2 separate regions of the Homo sapiens genome follow, and region 2 is linked to region 1. Evidence: promoter capture Hi-C in human tissues and cell types (Jung and others, 2019). All regions are on one chromosome and are shown on one strand. The core of a region is centred on a gene start or on the middle of the fragment in contact, and the rest is flanking DNA. Distances in the headings are between cores, read along the strand shown. Region 1 holds the start of DBX1 (developing brain homeobox 1). Region 2 overlaps NAV2 (neuron navigator 2).

Evidence for each region. Contacts are between HindIII fragments. The study calls those that stand out against the background at their distance.
Region 2: a contact is called between a fragment that was not itself captured here and the fragment with the promoter of DBX1 in region 1, in 4 of the 25 tissues and cell types used here (bladder, dorsolateral prefrontal cortex, heart right ventricle and 1 more).

Annotation. Positions count from the first base shown.
Region 1 is chr11:20,158,320-20,164,270 of GRCh38, reverse strand. DBX1 (developing brain homeobox 1) reads left to right here and starts at 3,796. Exons shown (of 4, transcript NM_001029865.4): 1 at 3,796-4,313; 2 at 4,979-5,080. The coding sequence starts at 3,947. RefSeq lists enhancers at 789-1,290, 2,415-2,914, 2,915-3,416. The HindIII fragment of the contact is 9,910 bases long and covers 1-5,951 here.
Region 2 is chr11:19,982,832-19,988,782 of GRCh38, reverse strand. It overlaps NAV2 (neuron navigator 2), which reads right to left. Exons shown (of 38, transcript NM_145117.5): 11 at 4,536-4,658. Among named protein-coding and RNA genes, the nearest start is that of NAV2-AS3, 4.4 kb to the right of the region's middle. The HindIII fragment of the contact is 7,575 bases long and covers 1-5,951 here.

The DNA.
Region 1 (5,951 bases), core at 2,547-5,046:
CTTGCCAGCTGTTTTGGGGGCTATTTTGTAAGAGCAAAACAAACGTTTCGGGCTTGGAAAGCTAGTTAAAATTTGTTTCGGTCAGCGAGGCCAAGCTATATTTCCTGCAAACCATCTGCTTGATTGGCACAATAGAAGGATTTTCAAGGAAAAAGAGGGGAGTGAGTGTGAAAGGGATGGGGGGTGAGGGGGGAGACACTAGAAAGAGCTGGGGCAGCGGTAGCTCCTAGTGGCCTATTCTGAAGGTGAACCCCTTAGAGCTGTCTTAAAAGAGAGGCTTGCGAAGAGGGGCTGGGGCGGTAGGAAAGCTCTTTCAGTCCGAGCCTCGCAGCCCTCCTCCTTCGCCTCGCCCGTTAGCTCCCTGCCCCCCCTCCCCACACCCCCCACCCCAAAGCCAGGCGTCGGGCGCTTTTCCCTGTCGCCGCCCGGCATCCGGCCAATCTTTCCAAAATGCGCTCTCACTCTGTTGGCTGCTCCGGCAGGGAGCATGGAGGACTGGGGGTCCGAAGCCTGCAAAGGGTGACCTTAGCGTTGCAGCCTTCCCGAAACGGAGACTTGCCATCTTTTCAGAGGGCGGGGAAGCTCACACCACTCTCTGCTTTATAGTGTCCGTTTCGCCTCGCTTGCTGGCCCTTCGCTTACCCGAGACATTCCAGGCACGGCTCGCACTGGAGAGGGCCGCGCTGCTGCTGCGACCGCACGGCGCCCGGGGCAGGAACATGCTCGCTCTCCCCTGCGCGGGGGGAACGAAACCCCCAGAGTGCGTTCCGACACGCTCTTTCTACTATCCAAGGCAGGTTTCGGCAGCTTTGGCCACCTAGGCCCGGGGAGCCCCAGCCGGATCTGCTGCGGCCTCCCCCGCAGCGTAGGCAAGGACCTTAAACCCCAAACCAGGGACTCCGATTCTCTCTTTTCCCCTCCCGTCTTCTTTTCTCTTGAAAGAGAAATAGACAGAAAGCTCAGCCTTGAGACAAAGAACGCGAGTGATTTCTCCGAAATAAACTTGAAGATAACGACATAACAGTGAATGGCAGGACGCACAAAACCCCATGGGCTCAGGTCAAATGGCATTAGTCACAGGTCTTAGCCGCAGCCGCCGCGCCGCGCAGCTCCTTGGGCTATCGCGGAGTTTGAAAAGACGCGTTCAAGGAGATCACTTAAAGTAAGATCCTTTCGTCCGATTTCTTGCTTCCTTAGGATTTATTTTTCCTTTCACGGGCGGCCAGCCCTCGCCCCCTCGCCCCCGCCCTCACTTTTCCTCTTTGGCGCTTTAGGAATTCTTTAGGAGGCTGTGGAGACCGACCCCAGGAAGCAGGGTCCACGTGGATCGCAGCAAGGGGTTGATCCACCCTCCAAAAAATGGCAGGGTAGACTTTTAAAAGCCGAGAAGTTAGTAGCAGTTAGTCTATAGTGAGGCAGAATGGCTGGGGCTTGGGGTGGGGGCTAGGGGTGGCATGAAGCCTGTCGACGGACAGGAAACGGTGAAAACTACACCCCGGCAAATGCCCCAACAGGGAAGGAGGAGCTGGGAAGGGCTCACGCTGGCTTCAAGTTCTTACCGTTCCCCCCTCCAAAAAAAAACAAAATCCAAGTTGATTTTGGCAAATATAGACTCTATTCTGATCATCCGGAAGACTTGGACAAGCGCTTCACCGGTAGGGAATCAAACATCCTGAAGCCCCCGGCGCGTCCTTCTGGGAACTGGCAATTGCCCAAGTCCTTAAGACTCGGGGAGAAAAAGGGGTGGGGGGCAGAGGGAAAGGGAGTGGGAGAAGGAGGGAGGTGGGCCTGAGGAAAAAAGTAAGGGAGAGGAAGGGAGAGAGCCAGTCTTATTGCAATGGGAAACTGTCTCATGGCAAGGTTAAAGTGCAGGTGTTCAGATAGCTTATGCTTTTCTCACCTATTTTATTGCAAACTTCAAAAAGGAACTTTTGACGTTCTTCGACAGATCTCCTTCTTCCGTTTCCAGGGGACTCCAATTAACTCCAGCAAGGCGCTTCCCATATTTAAATAGCCCCTTATTTAAAAGTTGTTTCTTTCCTGATTGGTTTTCTCCCGCTGCCCATGAGCATGAGCGGTCTTGGGCTCAGAAACTCCGCACTTACGTCATCTTCTAGCATTAATTCGCCTCTGGAGCTGGGCCCTAAATAACTTTTTAATTTGAATCAAGGGAGAGTTTTAGCCGGCTCCGTTTCTGGTTTAATGTGATATAAATCGCAGATGCACTTTTATTGAATGGTTAAAGCAGCGACATGGAGATCATCAACACAAAACACCCCGAACAAAACCATCGAGAGAAATAAAGCTGGTTAATAAGATTTTTGAGAAAGCTTTGTGTTAAAAAGCAAAAAGGAAAACCAGCTGAAGGTGACAGTTAGTTCATGGTTAATAGGATCAGGGCGGCCTGGCGGGGCTGCACACTTCTCTTTGGGGAGGTTCAGCCACACTAAAGAGATGAATGGGACATTTAACACATCTGTTATCTCGCCGAACAGAGAAATGGGGGGAATCGAGTCTTAGTACCACCTCAGCCCCAACCAGAGGAAAGCGAAGGGACTGTCTCCAGGAAGATTCTCCTTTGAAGCCCCACATTCAGGGGAGGCTTTCCCGGAGTGGACCAACATTCTTGGGAACCGCATCCCTTCCCTCTGGTTTTCACGCGTTTGTGCGTTGTAGTTAATTAAGAAGCTGCCAAACCTTGGGCCAAGTTAAGGGCCCCGCAAGTGGTAGGGTTCTCTCCAGACGACGTCTGGACCTTCGCTGCTATGGCTTAAAATGTCAGGGCTGTGAGTTTCAACTTAAACTGCCGAGAGCTCCCTGTGTTTGGAGAACGGCCAGCATAGCACTCACAGCCTTTGGATACCCTTGCCCGAGGCAGTTTCCGGTCAGCCTAAGCTCTTTGCAAGCGGAATCCTGCCGCTCGGCAGCCCAGCGCCGCTCTCCTCCGCTCCTCCCGCAAGGTGAGGTGCGGACAGCCCCTTGCAGAAACTCCTAGAGAAAATCGTTTTCCAAGTTGCTGGGAATTTGAAGGAGACTCGTTTTACTTTTCAGGTATCCACCAACGCTCAAACTCAACCAGTCTCCCGAAATGAAATAACTCCAGACCTCTCCCCACTCTTACGGACACACATCCAGTGGCCCCAAAGCATCCGTTTCCAAGTTTCCCTGAGTCGTCAGAATGGGACTTCTAACACTGATTTCACTCACCCCTACATTTGCTTTATGCTTCAGCTGGAGTAACGGATAGGGCTAGAGACCGGAAAGGGAGTATATTTTCATGTCCACTGACTTGAAACTTTTCATTGCCCTACCCCCACAAGAGGGAGGGCAACTTTGCTGATAGCCTGAAGATGTATTTCTATGAATATTTATTGATTTATTTTCCAGGCTTAGCAGGGGAGCTGCAAATAAATTTAGTGGGTTCTTTAAATAATTCCTTTTCTATGAGGCAAGATGTCATCTGAAACTTCTAAATAGGCATTTAATTAGCCCGGGTGTTGCTTCGGAACAAAAACCTTTGGCGAGAGCTTTGGGGGCGCACTGTATTGCAAAGAGGCGGTCGATATGCAAAATTGATGCGCGCGGGCCTTTGTTGCCGGCCCATTGTGCGGGCCATGCTTATGAAGACTAATCCAATCATAAATTGCACCCCTGCGCCAATCAGAGAGTCCAGAGCCTCCGGCGAATGAAGCTCGAGTGGAGAACTTTGTTGAACTTCATTGTCAGAGCTGTCACTTTTCAAAGTGCTTTAGCGGGCGGGCCACTATAAAACCATCACCTCGACGAGAGGACCACGGAGGACTCGCAGACGCCCAAGTGGGATTGTTACTTGGAGACGTTTGCTAAGCCCAAGAGAGAGGACACTGTGGGGGCGGGAGGGGCGGGAAGCGAGGCGTTTACCCTCCGGCCACTGAAAGAAGGGTTATTTCGCCCGCCCGCGCCTACCATGATGTTCCCCGGCCTCCTCGCGCCCCCCGCCGGGTACCCTAGCCTCCTGCGGCCCACGCCCACCTTGACGCTGCCCCAGTCCTTGCAGTCGGCATTTTCCGGCCACTCCAGCTTCCTGGTGGAGGATCTGATCCGCATCAGCCGACCCCCCGCCTACCTGCCCCGCAGCGTGCCCACCGCCAGCATGTCGCCGCCCAGGCAGGGGGCCCCCACGGCCCTCACCGACACGGGGGCCTCGGACCTGGGCTCCCCGGGTCCCGGCAGCCGACGGGGCGGCTCTCCGCCGACTGCCTTCTCCCCTGCCAGCGAGACGACGTTTCTGAAGTTTGGAGTGAACGCCATCCTCTCCTCGGGGCCCAGAACAGGTAAGCGAGGTCAGAACCCTAAGGGCCCATTCAGGTACTAGGCATGCGCGGAGTCATCCTGGCCTCAGTTTCCTCTAGCGAGCGGGCCCCCACACACACATCGGTGCACACACAATACGCACGAACTCTGAGACCCTACGTCAGGCAATGTGAGAATAGTCCAGTCAATTCCGGGGAAGAAAAGCCTCCAGGCTCGCCCCATCCTCGGAGTGAACTTGAGCACACGCAGTCGGAGACTGTGCGCAGTCATCTGGTGCAGTAACGCTGAGCGCACGCTCCTGGACGTCTGCGTTTCTGCCTTCGAGCTTCTAGGAGACAGTTTTTTTTTTTAAACTCAATATGATATATTTATTGGATTAGCAAATATTATAAATCTGCAATTTCTTTCCTCCCCACTCAGTCCTATCTCGTTAGTGCCTAGGATGGAGATTGGGGTAGAGTGGGACGGCGCAGAGAATTACGTTGGGGAGAAAGAAAAGAGTTTTACAGATAAGACAATGTTGGGAAGATTTATTTTACCCTGTCAACGTATAAGAAAGATGTCTTTGAAACCAGATGAAGGGCTAATTATATCGTGTGTTCAGTGTGCTATACAATAGGCAAGTACGTAATCAGATTCTTTCTGTCTCCCTCTCTCCTTCTGTCCCCCCTCCATCGCCCACCAGAAACATCCCCAGCCTTGCTCCAGAGCGTCCCTCCCAAGACCTTCGCCTTTCCCTACTTCGAAGGGTCTTTTCAGCCTTTCATCAGATCTTCTTATTTCCCAGGTAGGTCTCGTCCCCCTTCTTTGCGCGAGGCAGGGCGGCGCCCCAGCCCCGGCCCATCGCTCCCTGCTCCGAAGCCGTATTTCTCCGTCCACCCCTCGGGGTTATGCTCTGGTTCAGAGGTTGCGAGGCGTATAACATTCATGAATCCGTCGCGCCAATTTGATGCCCTATTGAGCACAAGCAGTGACTGCTTGACACTTTGCACCAATTCCCTGCTCTACAAATTAGCAGGAATTGTCATGGTCCCAATTTGAGGCGGTTCCCTTCCCGGCGAGGAGCTGTTGGCATCCCTTCACGCCGCCGTTTTCCCACAGAGTCAGTGCACTTGGCCACGATTCCCCACAAAGGTTTCAGCACCATGACCAATTGGTCAGCTCCTCCGGGCAGCCACACACAGACCGGCCCTAGTCCCTCCACGCCGCCGAGAGACACCTACCAGCCGGGGCTAATTTCTCTTTAAGACTCATTCAGGGCTTCGGGCTTTTCACAAGACCACATGGGGTGCCCTCTTGTGTGGGATGCCTAGGGTCGCCCAGGGGGAGGGGGATTAGATCCTCCCCCAATCCCAACCTATTTCCAGCCTGATTTCCAAACCCCTTCTCATACTCCTTTCCCACCCTGTATTATAAAATACCGTTGATCTTGCAAAATAAGAAGCAGTTAGAAGAAAGCCCATAATTGTGTCCCAGCCTAAAACAGCAACACCTTAGGCAGCTTCCACCAGGTTTTCTTCCTGTAACCTCACTGATGATTCAAACTATGGCTCAAAAACTCTGCCACTGGTCAAAACTAAAAAGGAGGCAGGAGAGTCCCTATACAGAGAAGAAAAACTGGGTATGGCCTGCGGGGGATGGGTAAAATCACGACAGCA
Region 2 (5,951 bases), core at 2,507-5,006, 180 kb after region 1:
TCAGCTTGGCAGGCTGCTCAAATACCAGGTTGCATAGTTACATTCTCACACCATGAGACTCTCCTTGAGAGAGGCCTCCCAATTCAAGCTGAAACTGGGACGCCTCTGAGTGCCAAGGCCCTGGATGCAGCCTGGAAAGTCTGTACAGTGACTCTGAATCCTTCACTGAAACAGCAATCTCAGTACTTAAAACATTCAGAATTTGAAGGGTAATGAAAAACTTATAACAAGAAGAAAAGAAAAATCTCTCCTTTCTGCTTGGTTTCCTGGCTCAAAGGTGGAGGGCGATTTTCATTTTGTTCAAGTTTCAGGCTGACTCTTTACCACACAGCATTTGTTTTTTTTGTCTTTAGAAGGTTTGAAGTAATATGGCCTTATCGCCTAAATTAATAAAAAGCACTGAAGTTCAGTAAGTATTCTAACGGCTTAGAAGAAAGTTACCAAGTAGTTCCAAAGTCCTCCTCCTGATCTAATGTCACACCAAGCCTGATTTCTGTCCTCGTTGTGCTCTCAATGGCGTTTATGTGATCTTGGGATGACATTCGAGAGGAGCATCTAACTGGCTCAGCCCGTTGTGTGCTAAAACACAGGTTGGTAAAGAAAAGGATGAGGAGGATGGTGTGGCTTTGCAGTCACCAAGAAAGAGATTTAGAACTTTCCCAGAGCTGATCTTTACACTATCAAAGCTCTCAACTTGCTGGAGTTCGGGAACTTTTGATGGGTTCTGAGAGGACAGCAGTGCATGTAGGAACTGGCAGGAGTTCAATGAGCCATTTGACTGTCTGTTAGCCTAGTCTTGGCCCTCCTTGCCATATTTCTTCTTCTTCCCAGTCTGCCAGTTTGGAGACCTCCATGCCAAAGCTCCTTTTATCTGTCTGTTATCTGGAGCCTATGATGTGTAATAAGCCACTCCATTTGTCCCTTTTGATCCTCTCTTCTCAGACACCTGGCTCTAGTCTGCTGGAAGTAGACACTGATCACTATCAGGAAAAACCTGGAGCCCAGGAGTGGCAACCCTAAAGAGTGACAAGAGATCAAGGGCACACTTTACTATCTTCATTTATTATTTCTTAGAAGCTGGCTGGTAACATACCAGACTCACCAACTGACACAGTCTCTATCTCCCAGGCTCTGAAGGCATCCATTCTTATCAGTTACTTTTAATAACCCTGAAGATACCCCAGCCACATTCTGCTGCAAACAGGCAAGTTCTGCCTGGTAGGCCAGCGTCCCTTAAGGTCTTTTCCTGGAAGAGCTGTTCTCCCCAGCTGCTTGGCTGTGGTTATTAATTTTCTTATTCACACAGTGATCTGCCTTTCTTTCGTTTGCTGAGGTCTAATCAGGTCTAATCACTCAGTACTTTTCCTCTTTCCTTTGTAGAACTCATGTGGTCTATTGCTTATGTGTGAATGGAAAAAGGACCAGGCTATCTTTTTATACAGAACTTCCTGGAAAAACCTTAGCTCTGGGACCTTCGATTTTCAGGTTTAAAGGAAAGAATTCGGGTCAATTATCTAAGTTGTTTAAAGAACATATTTCCAATTACAGGGACAAGAACAGTATTATCGAAATTGCAGCCACTTGCATACTACCTTTGTTTTCTGATATAACTACATACCACCTGTGATATTCTTCCTTGATATTTCACATTAAATTGTCTCAAGTCTACACTATCCTTACCTTAAGCAGCATTTGTAAAATCACAGGTTTGATGTGCTAGTTGTAAGTTTTTAAAAAAATATTAAAATTAAAATGTAATTATTAAAAAGGAGTATTTTCCTATCTGCCATCTAAAACTATCTCCTATACCACCATGATAGCCTCCCACTTTGGGAAACACTCATTTAGAATATAGATTTTGTAACTACATGAGACTAAATTTGCGATTTACATAAAGAATTTTACAGAAACAAATGTACTATTTCAACTTAGCCAAAGATGAAGTATTACTATGGTCAGCTCATAATAACTTTGGAAGTTATAAAAATTTAGCATATTCTAGAATAATGGAAAATATCTCCTTGCCTATAGGCCAGAACTTATGTAAAACAAGGGTAAATTTGTAGTCTTTTGCAAATCCTATGTCTTTAAAAAGCCATCTGAGTTCTTTCTTTAAAACTTTGTCAGTTATCCACTCAGTTTGTTTTTTGTTTTGAGACTGAGTCTCACTCTGTTGCCCAGGCTGGAATGCAATGGCTGCAATGGCACAATCTCGGCTCATTGCAACCTCTGCCTCCCGGGTTCAAGCAATTCTCATGCCTCCCTCTCCCGAGTAGCTGGGATTACAGTTGTGCATCACCACAAACGGCTAATTTTTGCATTCTTAGTAGAGACAGGGTTTCATCATGTTTGCCAGGCTGGTCTCAAACTCCTGACCTCAGGTGATCTGCCCGCCTTGGCCTCCCAAAGTGCTGAGATTACAGGCGTGAGCCACCATGCCCGGACTCATTCAGTTTTAAATAAATGATCATATCGGAGCATTCCAGTCTGGAGAGAACCAAAGGACATTGTTGTCCATTTGGTTTAACCATACAGGCTGAACTAAAACAACCTAACAAGTGCTACCTATCTTTTCAACCCCACCCTCATCCTCCATCTCCAGAAGCAGGAAACAAGCTCAACTGTGATCTATAGTAATCCCATTAATCTTACAATGAAGCATTAAATTAAACTGCCTAGCATAGATTCTTCTGCTACAAGGAAAACTGTATCTTGTAAGGACTGTATTTTATGTGGATAGATTTACTAAACAACGGATAGAAGAATACAAATAAGCAAAATAATTTGGCAAATTGTCAAATCTCCAGTGGGGGTGTTGTAGCAACTGATTTTTTTTTACTGTTATTATTTACTATAAAGATTTTAGTTACAGAGAGTTTAGTTTCTCCTTAGTAAGAGCAGTTCTCAGCCCGGGCGCAGTGGCTCACGCCTGTAATCCCAGCACTTTGGGAGGCCGAGGCAGGTGGATCACCTGAATTCGAGAGTTCGAGACCAGCCTGGCCAACATGGTGAAACCCCGTCTCTACTAAAAATTCAAAATTAGCTGGGCATGCTGGTACACGCCTATAATCTCACCTACTTGGGAGGCTGAGGCAGGAGAATTGCTTGAACCCGGGAGATGGAGGTTGCAGTAAGCCAGGATCATGCCACTGCACTCCAGCCTGGGTGACAGAGTGAGACTCTGTCTCAAAAACAAACAAACAAACAAACAACAACAAAAAAACAAAAAAAACTTTTTTTTCTCAAATGGTTCATGTTTCTATGGACTTTTCAAACCCATTCCTTTCTTTGTTAATTACAGGAAAAAATCTGACTTGAGCTAGAACCCTAGTGGAAGGCCTTTTAACATCCCTGATATAAATCACAAGCCTGGGCACTGGGGGGACTCTAAGGAGGACACATTCAAGTTAGTGGTAGAGACTGGGCCAGATCCCAAGTTCCTAACAACTCATTCAGTGTTTCCCAGCCTTCCCTGAGAGAACATGAAGATTCTTCTTCAGCAAATTCCATCTCTGGGTGTGATTTCAGTATCTGTCTCTTTGGTGTGCTGTCCTATTTCTCTAAAGCCACACAATTACAGAAGTCACTTAGCTCTTTGTAAAAAGCATGCCCTGGGAACAGCAGGAAGCTGTTGTTGTGCTACTATTTGGCTTTCTGACATAAAAGGTTTAGTACCCAAAAAGTCTATGGTCATTTTAAACCACTTGCATCTAAATTCCATGTTACATCTCATCAACCCAGATGTGGAAAGAAGTCAAGTGTTCCAGCAAATCCTTAAACAGCCAGATCATTAAGGGTATTTGAAATCTGCACTGAAATCCAGAATTATAGAACATTAGAACTGGAAGGGATCATAGAAATCATATAGTCCAAACTCCTCACTTCATCGGTTGCTCAGGGTCATAGAATCAGTTTGTCAGAGTAAGAACTAGAACCTGGAGGCCAAATAGTCCTCTTTTATTACCACAGTATTTTCTGAACCTCTTTTCTTCCCTGACAGCAGTGGCAGTGACGCCTGATCAACCTCTATGATGTCAACTACTTAGCATGTGGTGTCTAAACCCATGTCCTTAAGCATTGCCTCCTATTACCATGCAACAGGAGGCTTTTTGGTGAAGGCTGCTCAGCCAAGGCTAGGAGAGATCCCTTCTGCACACAGACCTTCTGTGCCACAAGGTGCAATACCTAGAAAGCTGGCTAATGAGAGAGGAAGTAAAGCACATCCCTAGGGCCTGCTGAACTGACAAAGACACAGTAGCAACAAGCAAAACAATAACCAAAACCACCCAAGCCTGAACTCCCTGTGTTACTGCTGTCAGAAGCACCACCCTACACAGAAGCAGGACTCAAGAACCCTCGGCAGCCCTTTCCTACCTACTGTACCTGCTCCTAACCCCAGGTACAGATTCCAGGCCTCCCCTCCCTCTCTGTGGGTTCAAGTCTCCATTCACTCTCCCAATATCATAACCCTCATTTCTCAGGGCCCCCCTGGGATCACCTCTGCATCTGACCAGCCCCAAGTGCAGCAAGCTTACCTGTCAGCGTCTCCGAGGCCCAGGGAGGTATTTCGTTGCAGGGTCTCCCGTACCACAGCCATCCCATCAGGGAGCCGGTTCAGGCGACGGGTATAGAGGCCAAGTCCACCATCAGTCATGTATCTTTAAAAGGAGAAGAAGATGATGCACATGAATGTCCAAAGCAAGTGGCTTCCAGGCTTGCATTCATATCCAGAAGCCTGTACAGCCGCCAAGTGCTCTAAGGGGGAAGAAACGGAGGATTCCCTGAGGCTCTGGCACTGATCACAGCCCAAGGATAACTCAGCTGCTGATCCAACCTAGAGGATCCCCAGCTCGCTAACAAAAAGGTGAAAAAAGAGAGCGAACTCAGCTTAATTAACCCAAACTCACAGGTACCTACGACGCAGACGGGAACTAGGGAATAAAATTAACTGTCACATGGATTCATGACATTCTTTTCAATGTCAGCGATTATACAAGCAGGTGTTTTACCTGAGTAACGGAAATGGAACTGACAAATCATTAGCAAATCATAGGCAATAATATTACAGAACAGTGAGTGGAAAAAGCAGGCAGGCTTTTGAGAGAGGGGGAAAGAAAGGAGAGAGGATAGATGAGTGGCCTTTGCCATCACAGGCGAGTCCCTTCCCTGGATGGTGAGTTTTTCACCCAGGCTATAGGACTATCACGGCCTGTGACATGTGGGAATATCACAACATGGGCATGAGAATTAGTGAGATAAGGAATATGAAAGTGCACTGAAATTTGTGTAAGGCTATATAAGTGGAAGACATTACGGTTGTCACGATCATGAGGTGAATTTCACCCTTGATACTGATGTTTTCAGGGGGTTGCCACAAAACTCTGAACAACACTAATGCTAGTTTATTCTTTTTTTGGTAATACTACAAAGCTGTCTTCTGATGAAATCAGTGCTGTTCTTGAGAGGGAGGATGTCTGGAACTTTCTGTACAGATGGCTGATTGTCTACCAACCAGACAAGTTCCTGAAAGCTTAGCCACTAGTAGGAGGTAGCTCAGTCCAAGGCAGCTGTACCTCATATCTACCTTGGCTTCCTCACAGCCCCCATAAAGGAGACTGGTTTTGTCATTTCCCTCATCTTCAGAGGAGAACAGGAAGGCAAAGCAAAACTTGGGCAGAGCCAGAAACCAAACTTGGATCCCTTCAATCCCTTATGGGCCCCATCAGATCACCCTGCAAGGTATCTGAAAATGCAAGCATTTTACATTTCAAATCAAGTAATATGTAGTAAGAGGACCAATGAGTCATTATTTTTCTGAAACAGGGTCAGCTGAGCTACGTCATGGAAAGCTTAATTGCACTTGCCATTTTAACTTTTGCATATATGGAGTCGACCCTGAGGGTTCCCAATCCTTGAATTTCTTCTACCTGTAGCTGGGGACCTTTTTAGGA